Regions from separate parts of the Homo sapiens genome. Here regions 1 and 2 are each linked to region 3. Evidence: promoter capture Hi-C in 16 types of primary human blood cells and fetal thymus (Javierre and others, 2016). All regions are on one chromosome and are shown on one strand. The core of a region is centred on a gene start or on the middle of the fragment in contact, and the rest is flanking DNA. Distances in the headings are between cores, read along the strand shown. Region 1 overlaps RCOR1 (REST corepressor 1). Region 2 holds the start of TDRD9 (tudor domain containing 9). Region 3 holds the start of EIF5 (eukaryotic translation initiation factor 5).

Region 1 (2,737 bases), core at 1-2,500, 740 kb before region 3:
GGTATGGAAAATGTTTGAAAGAACGTAGGATTTATTTCAGAAATAAAATTCAAAAGAGCATCTTGTAAAGCTGGAGTTAACAATCCTCCATGGTTGGAGGGCTTTAGAGCTGGGGTTCTGTATGTGGGTTATACCACTAGTTTATTTGAAAAGATAAACGCATACATGTTTTTTCCTTGGAAACAAGACTGCAGAAAATTGCAATGATCTAGTCCTTGAAAAAGGCGATTGCTCTCAAGCTGTTATTAAGGTACTAAACTGCACTTTGAAGTGAAAATACATAGAGGTCCTAGGTGAGCTCTTGGACACTCTGGAAATAAATGACTTCCTAAATTGGCCTTCTAAATTTTGATTTGTTGACGTAAATCTGTTAAATTTATTTGTCTAATACTCGCGTTTGTGTTTCTTTTAAGTCCATGTTAGTGTTTTTGATAGTTTCCTCTTCTCCCCAATTCTTTTTTTTTTTTTTGGTAGTCACTTCTCGTTTATGAGTGACAGGATAGAACTAGGTGGCCAGGCTATATCTCTTGTATGCTTGGCTCCTCCGTTCCTTGGTTGGCCACCAGGGGAAGCATACTGTTTTTTGGTTACAGTTGACCCTGTCTTCATTTTGTAGGTCAAGTCTATCTTTGCTTTAAAACACAGAACATAAAGCTTGTTACCAAATTTTCCTAATGTATTATTTTTAAAAATCGACTTCCACAAATCTTTGAGTAAGTTGGTAGGCTTTTTGATACATTTTTGTTAACATAAATTTTGAAAACTTTATGTAGATGTGTTGGATGTGACTAAGGAAAAGGGCATATTTGTCAACAACAGGAATTAGATTTCTGACATTCATCGAAATATTGACATCAGCTCTGCATTGTTAGTAATGAGTTTGACTTCTTTGGAGTTATACTTTTCTTTGAAACAGCAAATATAATATTTTGAACTGTCTTTGGGCTTTTTGTTGGAATAGATATGAGCATAAACTTGCTAGTGACCAGCTATTCTAAAATGGAAAACATTTATCAGATTGCAGTAGCTCACACCTGTAGTCCCAACACTTGGGGAGGCCAAGGCTGGAGGATCTCTGGAGCTCAGGAGTTGGAGACCAGCCTGGGCAATGTAGTCAGACTCTGTCTCAACAAAAAATAAAAAAATTAGCTGGGCATGGTGGCATGTGCCTGTAGTTTCAGCTACGGGGGGGTCTGAGGCTGGAGGATCTCTGGGAAGTCAAGGCTGCAGTGAGCAGTGATCTGGCCATTGCACTCCAGCCTGGGTGACAGAGTGAGACCCTGTCTCAGAAATAAAAAGGAAAACATCTAACTGTTTTGCTGCATAGTCTTGCTGCCAATTGGTTGAGTATTGATATTAAAATTTCCAAATTTCTTTTTTTTTTTTTTGAGACGGAGTCTTGCTCTGTCCCTCAGGCTGGAGTGCGCAGTGGTGTGATCTCAGCTCACTGCAAGCTCCGCCTCCCAGGTTCACGCCATTCTCCTGCCTCAGCCTCCAGAGTAGCAGGGACTACAGGCGCCCACCAACACTCCTGGCTAATTTTTTGTATTTTTAGTGGAGACGGGGTTTCACCGTGTCAGCCAGGATGGTCTTGATCTCCTGACCTCGTGATCCGCCCGTCTCGGCCTCTCATAGTGCTGGGATTACAGGCATGTGCCACCGCGCCCGGCCCCAAATTTCTTTATTTTGTGTTTGTTTTAATCTGGAAAGGAATCTAACTGGTGTAAAGTAATTTCAAACCTTGTTTTGCCAACCTAAGCAGGGGGACACAGTTTTCTAGATATGGCAGAAAATTGAGACTTTACTATTTCCTAGTGGTTTTTTATGTGTCTTTTCATTTAACTTAAAAGCTTAAGGGGAAGGAAGGCTTCCATTTTGGAATAGAAATGATACAACATTTTTTTTTTTTTTAATACGGAGTTTCACTCTTGTTGCCCACGCTGGAGTGCAATGGCGTGATCTGGGCTCACCGCAACCTCTGCCTCCTGGGTTCAAGCAATTTTCCTGCCTCATCCTCCTAAGTAGCTGGGATTACAGGCATGCGCCACCATGCCTGGCTAATTTTTTGTATTTATAGTAGAGACAGGGTTTCTCCATGTTGATCAGGCTGGTCTGGAACTCCTGAACGCAGGTGATCCACCCACCTCAGCCTTCCAAATTACTGGGATTACAGGGGTGAGCCACCGTGCCCAGCCAACTGATGTTTGTTTTATAGCAAAATTCTTTCTTAGCTGTTTAAGACTTAAGACAGGTTCTTTCCATGACTGCAATTTAAGAGTAGTGAATTGAGTAATAAATTAAGAATTGAGAGTTTGATCCTTACTAGTTTTTATTTCCTCCTCCTACTTGTTTTTTTCTTTTTTCTTTTATTTTTTGAGACCAAGTCTCACTCTGTTGCCCAGGCTGGAGTGCAGTGGCACGATCTTGGCTCACTGCAACCTCCACCTCCGAGGTTCAAGTGATTCTCCTGCCTCAGCCTCCAGAGTAGCTGGGATTACAGGTGCCCACCACCACGCCCAACTAATTTTTGTGTTTTTATTAGAGATGCGGTTTCACCATGTTGGCCAGGCTGGTCTCGAACTCTTTGCTTCAGGTGATCTCCCCGCCTTGTCCTTCCAAAGTGCTGGGATTACAGGCGTGAACCACTGTGACTGCCCCTCCCCCCGCCTTTTTTTTTTTTTTTGAGACGGAGTCTTGATCTGTTGCCCAGGCTGGAGTGCAATGGCACAATCTTGAC
Region 2 (2,950 bases), core at 404-2,903, 590 kb after region 3:
GACATACCATGAGTCTCAATTACTTTATGATTACCTTTTTTCTTATTTTTTGAAAAACATGACTGGGCATGGTGGTTCATGCTTGTAGTCTCAACACTTTGGGAGGCCAAGGGCTCCCAAACAGATTGCTTGAGCCCAGGAGCTTGAGACTGGCCTGGGCAACACAGCGAAACCCCTGTCTGTACTAAAAATATAAAAAATTAGCCGGTGTGGTGGTGGCGTGAGCCTGTAGTTCCAGCTATGCAGGAGGTTGTGGTGGGAGCATCACCTGAGCCCCCGAAGTTGAGGCTGCAGTGAGCCCTGATTGCAGCACGGCACTCCAGCCTCAGCGACAGGAGTGAGACCCTGCCTCAAAAGAAAAAAGAAAAGCAAGTTATTTCTTCCTGGCAAAGTGTGTTGAGGCACTTTTGGGAACCTGTCGTATTTGGCAGAGTCCTAATATGAGGTCTAGAGCTCATTATGCCAGGATTTGGAGCCAGAACTCCTGGCTTAGTATGATTATGGGTTCAATTTTTGAGACACCAATAGCTCAACCTACCTGCCTGATTTCTGTCTACAGTGTTTTCAAACCGCCCTCTTATTTGCCACTGCTTGGGCTTTACACTGCTGATTAGAGCCATGCTCTCGATACCGTCTCTGTATTTGTTCACATGGCTCTTTCCTGAGAGCCCACATGGGCCAGATAGATCCTGCCCTGGCCAGTGAGGGGGACACACCCCAGGCAGGTGGCCATGTCTCTCTTCTGACCCTCCCTTCCCTTGCACACGTGGCTGCCTTCCCGTGCATCCTTTGTTGATTTCTTCCCGCGGCTCCTTCTTTTGGGGAGTTTGCTAGGGCTCTGTTCTCCACCCTCACTCTTCTAGAGCTCGGCCGGGACCACCTCAGCCTGTATCTTTGGTCCATGTGATCGCCTGGACCTCCTGTCCGCACCTGTTTGTGTCCAGCTGTGAGTCTGACACCGCCGCCTGAGACACCGGTTTAGGAAGGAAGATGAATTCAGTTATGATCCGGCTGCAAAGAACTTCTCCCAGATCCTCACCTCAGCCATCAGGGCCGCCTGCCCTCCCCTATAACCCTGGGTGGTCCTCCGTCTGGCGCATTCCCCCGTATCCTGCAGGGGTCTGCCTGGCGTTACTTTCTCCGAGACCTTCCTGACCTTCTTCTTGCCCCTCTCCCCCCATATTAGGTGCAAGGATGTCCTGGTACGTCTGACCCACGAACGCAAATCCCTTCTCTGGTTTGCCTTCCATCTCCTCACCCTGAGGTGCTCAAGAAACGTATGTAGGGTCCCGGTCCGCTCAAAGCGCACAAACCTCCGAGGCAGCAGCCTCTAAATAGAGAGGCCAGGGAGTGACCGGAGGGCATTTTCTTGTACACACAGGGGTTGCCACGGAACTCCCGTGAAACAGACTCCCGGGCCAGCCGCGGCGCTCAAGCTTCCCCTGAGGTCCTAGAAAGGCTCACCCTGGGCTCGCTCGGGGCGGCGGCTCCCGGCAGGCCTAGCGCGGCGGGGCGGGGCCGGCGGCACGAGGACCAGGCAGCGCGGGCAGCACGCGCCCGGGCCGGAGCCCGCCCACAAGGGCGCGCGGCGCGTTCTGATTGGAAGGCCTCGAGCGGGGGCGGGGCTTCCAGGGTGCGCTTCCGCCGTCGCCTGTTCCCGCCGCGGAGACCCGGCAGTTGGGGGATGCCGACGCCTGGGCCTTGAGGATGCTGCGGAAGCTCACCATCGAGCAGATCAACGACTGGTTCACCATCGGCAAGACGGTGACCAATGTGGAGCTGCTGGGCGCGCCGCCCGCCTTCCCGGCAGGGGCGGCCAGGGAGGAGGTGCAGCGCCAGGACGTGGCCCCCGGCGCTGGTCCCGCGGCCCAGGCTCCGGCTCTGGCCCAAGCTCCGGCCCGGCCGGCCGCTGCGTTCGAAAGGTAGGACGCGGGCGGGGCGGAGGCGGCTGGAGGGCGGCCGGGCGAGGCCTGGCGACGAGGGCACGGGCCATCCAGATCCTTCTCGCGAGCCCGTGCCCTCTCGCGGGGCTCCAGGGACCCCTGACCGTCCAGGGCGAGTGGTCACTACACAACCCGACGCGCGGCCCAGAGCGGTGCCTGTAAGGAAGCTGAGCTAGAGGTTTTTTTTTTTTTTTTTTTTTCAGTTCTTAATGTTTAACAGACTAGTTTTTGAGGCACTCAGGTTTTCAGGATAACGGAGCGGAGGGCAGAGGTCCCATAGGCCCCTTCCCTCCCAGAGTTTCCCCTGTGAGCATCTGCGTAAGGTGTGGGTATTTGTGACAGTCGGCGAACCTGCATCGCTGCGTCTTCGTCACCCGGAGGCCATCGTTACAGGAGGGTTCACGCCTCGTACTGGACGTTCTGTGGGTTTGGACAAACGCCTAACGTCACGCATTACAGAGTTCACTGACCTACAGATCTTCTCGGCCCCACTGTTCCTGCCTCCCTTTCCCTACACCACGTGGAAACCACTGATTTTTTTACTGTCTCCATAATTTTGCTTTTCCATACTGTCATCTAGTTGGAATCACACAGTATGTGTAGCCTTTTTGATGGGTTTCTGTCACTTAGTATTAGTATGCATTTGGGGGTTCCTCCATGCCTTTCCATGGTTTGATAGCTTCTTTCCTTTTAGCACTGATTAATATTCCACTGTCTGGATGTACCACAGTTTATCTCCATTCACCTACTGAAGGAGAGCTTGGTTGCTTCCAAGTTCTCCCCCCACCCCCCGAGATGGAGTCTCACTTTGTTACCCAGGCTGGAGTGGAGTGGCGCCATCTCGCCTCACTGCAATCTCCCCCTCCTAGGTTCAAGCGATTCTCCTGCCTCAGCCTCCCGAGTAGCTGAGGCTACAGGCATATGCCACCACGCCTGGCTAATTTTTGTATTTTTAATAGAGACAGGGTTTCACCATGTTGGCCAGGCTAGTCTAGAACTCCTGACCT
Region 3 (2,700 bases), core at 59-2,558:
TCTCGCTCTGTTGTCCAGGCTGGAGTGCAGTGGTGTGATCTCGGCTCACTGTAACCTGTGCCTCCCGGGTTCAAGGATTCTCCTGCCTCAGCCTCCCGAGTAGCTGGGATTACAAGCGAGCCACCACGCCCAGCTAATTTTTTGTATTTTTAGTAGAGACAGGGTTCCACCATATTGGCCAGGCTGGTCTCAAATTCCCGACCTCAGGTGATCCGCCCACCTCAGCCTCCCAAAGTGCTGGGATTACAGACGTGAGCCACCGCGACCGGCCTAAATAATAGTAATTTTCAACGGAATACATTGGAATCTCATTATAAATGCCTGCTCTGGGCTACGATTTGCTTATCAAAGAATTCACAAGTCATAAACTAGAGGGGGTGGACTCGACGTGATGCCCACTAGGAGAAAGGTGACAAGAGAAGCACGAAGGATAGCGCTTTTCAACCCTGGGAGAGCAGGGAGGCCTTCACCAGAAGGTGGGAACCCACCACGAAGCGCCTTCAGGAGGCCCCAGGATTCCAAACCAATTAAGGGCCTCCTCTTCCGAAAACGGGAGGCGACGCGCTGAGCTAAGCGCGCAGGCTGGGTTGCGGGCCGACACCGAGGCGGCGCGGCCTCGCGACCGCCCTGGGCGGTCACTGGCGAGTCACGGACTCGTTCCGCCAGCGGCCAATCCACCCCGAGTCCGAAACAGAAGACGTCCCTGGGATGAAAGACCCAGGCCTGGGGCTTAAGGTGGAAAAACAACTCATTCCTCGAGGCCCGGAGTCGGGCGTCCCGGGAGAACGGGAAAGGGAGATGAGCGCCCGCTGCGGGGAGAACGCGGTCGGGTTCCTCTCCCCGAAGGTGGCAGCCGCAAAAACACGGCCTCGAAAGCAGTTTCGAGGACGATGGCTCCTGCGTCCCGGGAGTCGCCATGACGCCGCGGCCTGTCCCAGACCCGGCGAGGGAGGGGACCAACCACCATCTCCCCCTCAAGGCCCAAACCGACAAAGAACGGCCCCCGGTACCCCGGCCCCGCCACCAGGGCCACTCCGGGTCTCGCGAGACCCAAGGGCTGCGCCGCGAAGACCTCTGGGAAAGGCGGGGGGAGGGGAGAGGAAGGAAGCGAGACCGGGGCTGGAGGCGGGCCGAGGCCGCGAGTTGAGCCTCAGGAAGCAGAAGGGGCGCGGAAAGATGCGATTGACGTCGCAAGCGAACCAATGACGAGCGAGCTGTGGCAGGCCTCCAGCCAATGGGCAGTGAGGCCTGACGCGGGGGGCGGACGCTGGGGCCGAGGGTAGCTTGAGCGCGGCGGCGGCGTTGTTCAGTCAGAGCGAGAACATTCCAGAGGTGAGTCCGGTGAAGGGGCGGCCCCCTGCCCGGTGCTTCCCGCCCCCTCGACCCCTCGGGCCGCTGGCTGGCGGGGAAGGTGCACTCCCCGACCGCCCACGGCTCACGGCGCCGTCTCTCCGCGCCAGGTCGCCCAGCTCCGGCGCTGACGGGTGTGGACCGCGGACGTCGCTGGGACAGCCCCTCCCCGCTGCTCGGCGGCGGCACCTGGCCCGGCCGCTCCTCGCTGCGCTTCGCCTCCGCCTCCTCGGACTCGGACTCGGGTTTATATCGCGCCTCACTTCATCCCAGTCCCGGGCGAGCAGCGTTGGGTTTATGTCTTTATTTGACGAAAACGGTGAGTCGCGGGCGCGGCGGGCCAGGAGATGGCGGCCGCACAAGATGGCGGCGGCCGCCGCGTGACCCCGCCGCGGCGTGTGGCGCAGTTTGGGCGGACGGCGGGCGGGCGCGGGCCCGGGCGCCGGCCGCCCCCTCCCCGCGCGCTCCCCGGCCCGGCCTCGCCCCCTCCCCGGCATGGCGGGAGCGCGTCGCGCGTGCCCGCCGCTCGGGCTGACTCAGGCTTCAGCTGCTGCATTTGTGAGTCATCGCGCGCTCTGGGGCGGGGGCGGCCCGATCCCGGCACCCCTCGGCCGTGTGTCGCTTCCCGGCTGTGCACCCTCCGGGGCCGCCGGCTCTCGGGGGACGCGCTGGGGATGGGGCCAGACGCCCCGGTCGCGCGCCCCCCTCCTTCGCGGAGCTGCCCGGTTCGCCAGCCCCCGCGGAAACGCCTCGGAGCGCGGTAGCCATGGGGACCAGGGCGAAGGTTAACCGAGTATTTGAATAGCGAGGAAAAGGGAGGCCGGGGCGAGCCTGGCGTTCGCTCGCGCTCTCTTGCTTAATGGCAAATTGTGGGCGAGCGCTGCGTTTAAGGAAGTGCTGCTTTGAAGTAAGCCATGGTTGCCGAAGCAACGATTAGTTGTAGAGAACAGTTCCCTAGGTTGCCCTTAAAAATGAAGACGAACGGGGGTGTGCCTGAGAAGTTTGCTTATCCAGGCGGGGTGGGCGGCGGAGAGGGCTCGGGTTCGTTCTTCAGCACTTCCAGGATGGCCGCAGAGGCAAACCTGCTGATTGCCCTCGGTCTGATGGAATCTCACGGCGGCTGAGGCAGCACAGCTTGTGTTTTCTTGTCAGGCATTTCCCTACCAGTCACAGCTTAGTCGAAATGGAGGCCTTTTTATGTTCCCGCAGATTGTACTGTGTTACATGAGAATGGCTGTTTGCATGTGATCTCAGATGCTTTTTAAGGTGGAGTTAAGCAGAAGCATAACTAGGATGTAAAAAGGAGGCGTTTCCATCCAGCGATGATGTTAAACCTGGGGGGATTTTTGT

The links. Contacts are between HindIII fragments. The CHiCAGO score rates a contact against its expected background, and 5 or more counts as called.
Region 1: a contact is called between a fragment that was not itself captured here and the fragment with the promoter of EIF5 in region 3, in 2 of 17 cell types (fetal thymus and total CD8 T cells). The highest score is 6.6, in fetal thymus.
Region 2: a contact is called between the fragment with the promoter of TDRD9 here and the fragment with the promoter of EIF5 in region 3, in 1 of 17 cell types (total CD4 T cells). The highest score is 10.2, in total CD4 T cells.

What each region holds. Positions count from the first base shown.
Region 1 is chr14:102,594,208-102,596,944 of GRCh38, forward strand. All of the region lies in intron 2 of RCOR1 (REST corepressor 1), which reads left to right. Among named protein-coding and RNA genes, the nearest start is that of RCOR1, 2.9 kb to the left of the region's middle. The HindIII fragment of the contact is 1,196 bases long and covers 653-1,848 here.
Region 2 is chr14:103,926,803-103,929,752 of GRCh38, forward strand. It overlaps TDRD9 (tudor domain containing 9), which reads left to right and starts at 1,654. Exons shown (of 36, transcript NM_153046.3): 1 at 1,654-1,922. The coding sequence starts at 1,708. The HindIII fragment of the contact is 2,314 bases long and covers 1,435-2,950 here.
Region 3 is chr14:103,332,929-103,335,628 of GRCh38, forward strand. It overlaps EIF5 (eukaryotic translation initiation factor 5), which reads left to right and starts at 1,309. Exons shown (of 12, transcript NM_001969.5): 1 at 1,309-1,332; 2 at 1,461-1,669. It overlaps EIF5-DT (EIF5 divergent transcript), which reads right to left and starts at 1,732. Exons shown (of 1, transcript NR_158216.2): 1 at 1-1,732. RefSeq lists an enhancer at 765-884 and silencers at 1,205-1,624, 1,765-1,814, 1,925-2,164. The HindIII fragment of the contact is 3,190 bases long and covers 1-2,700 here.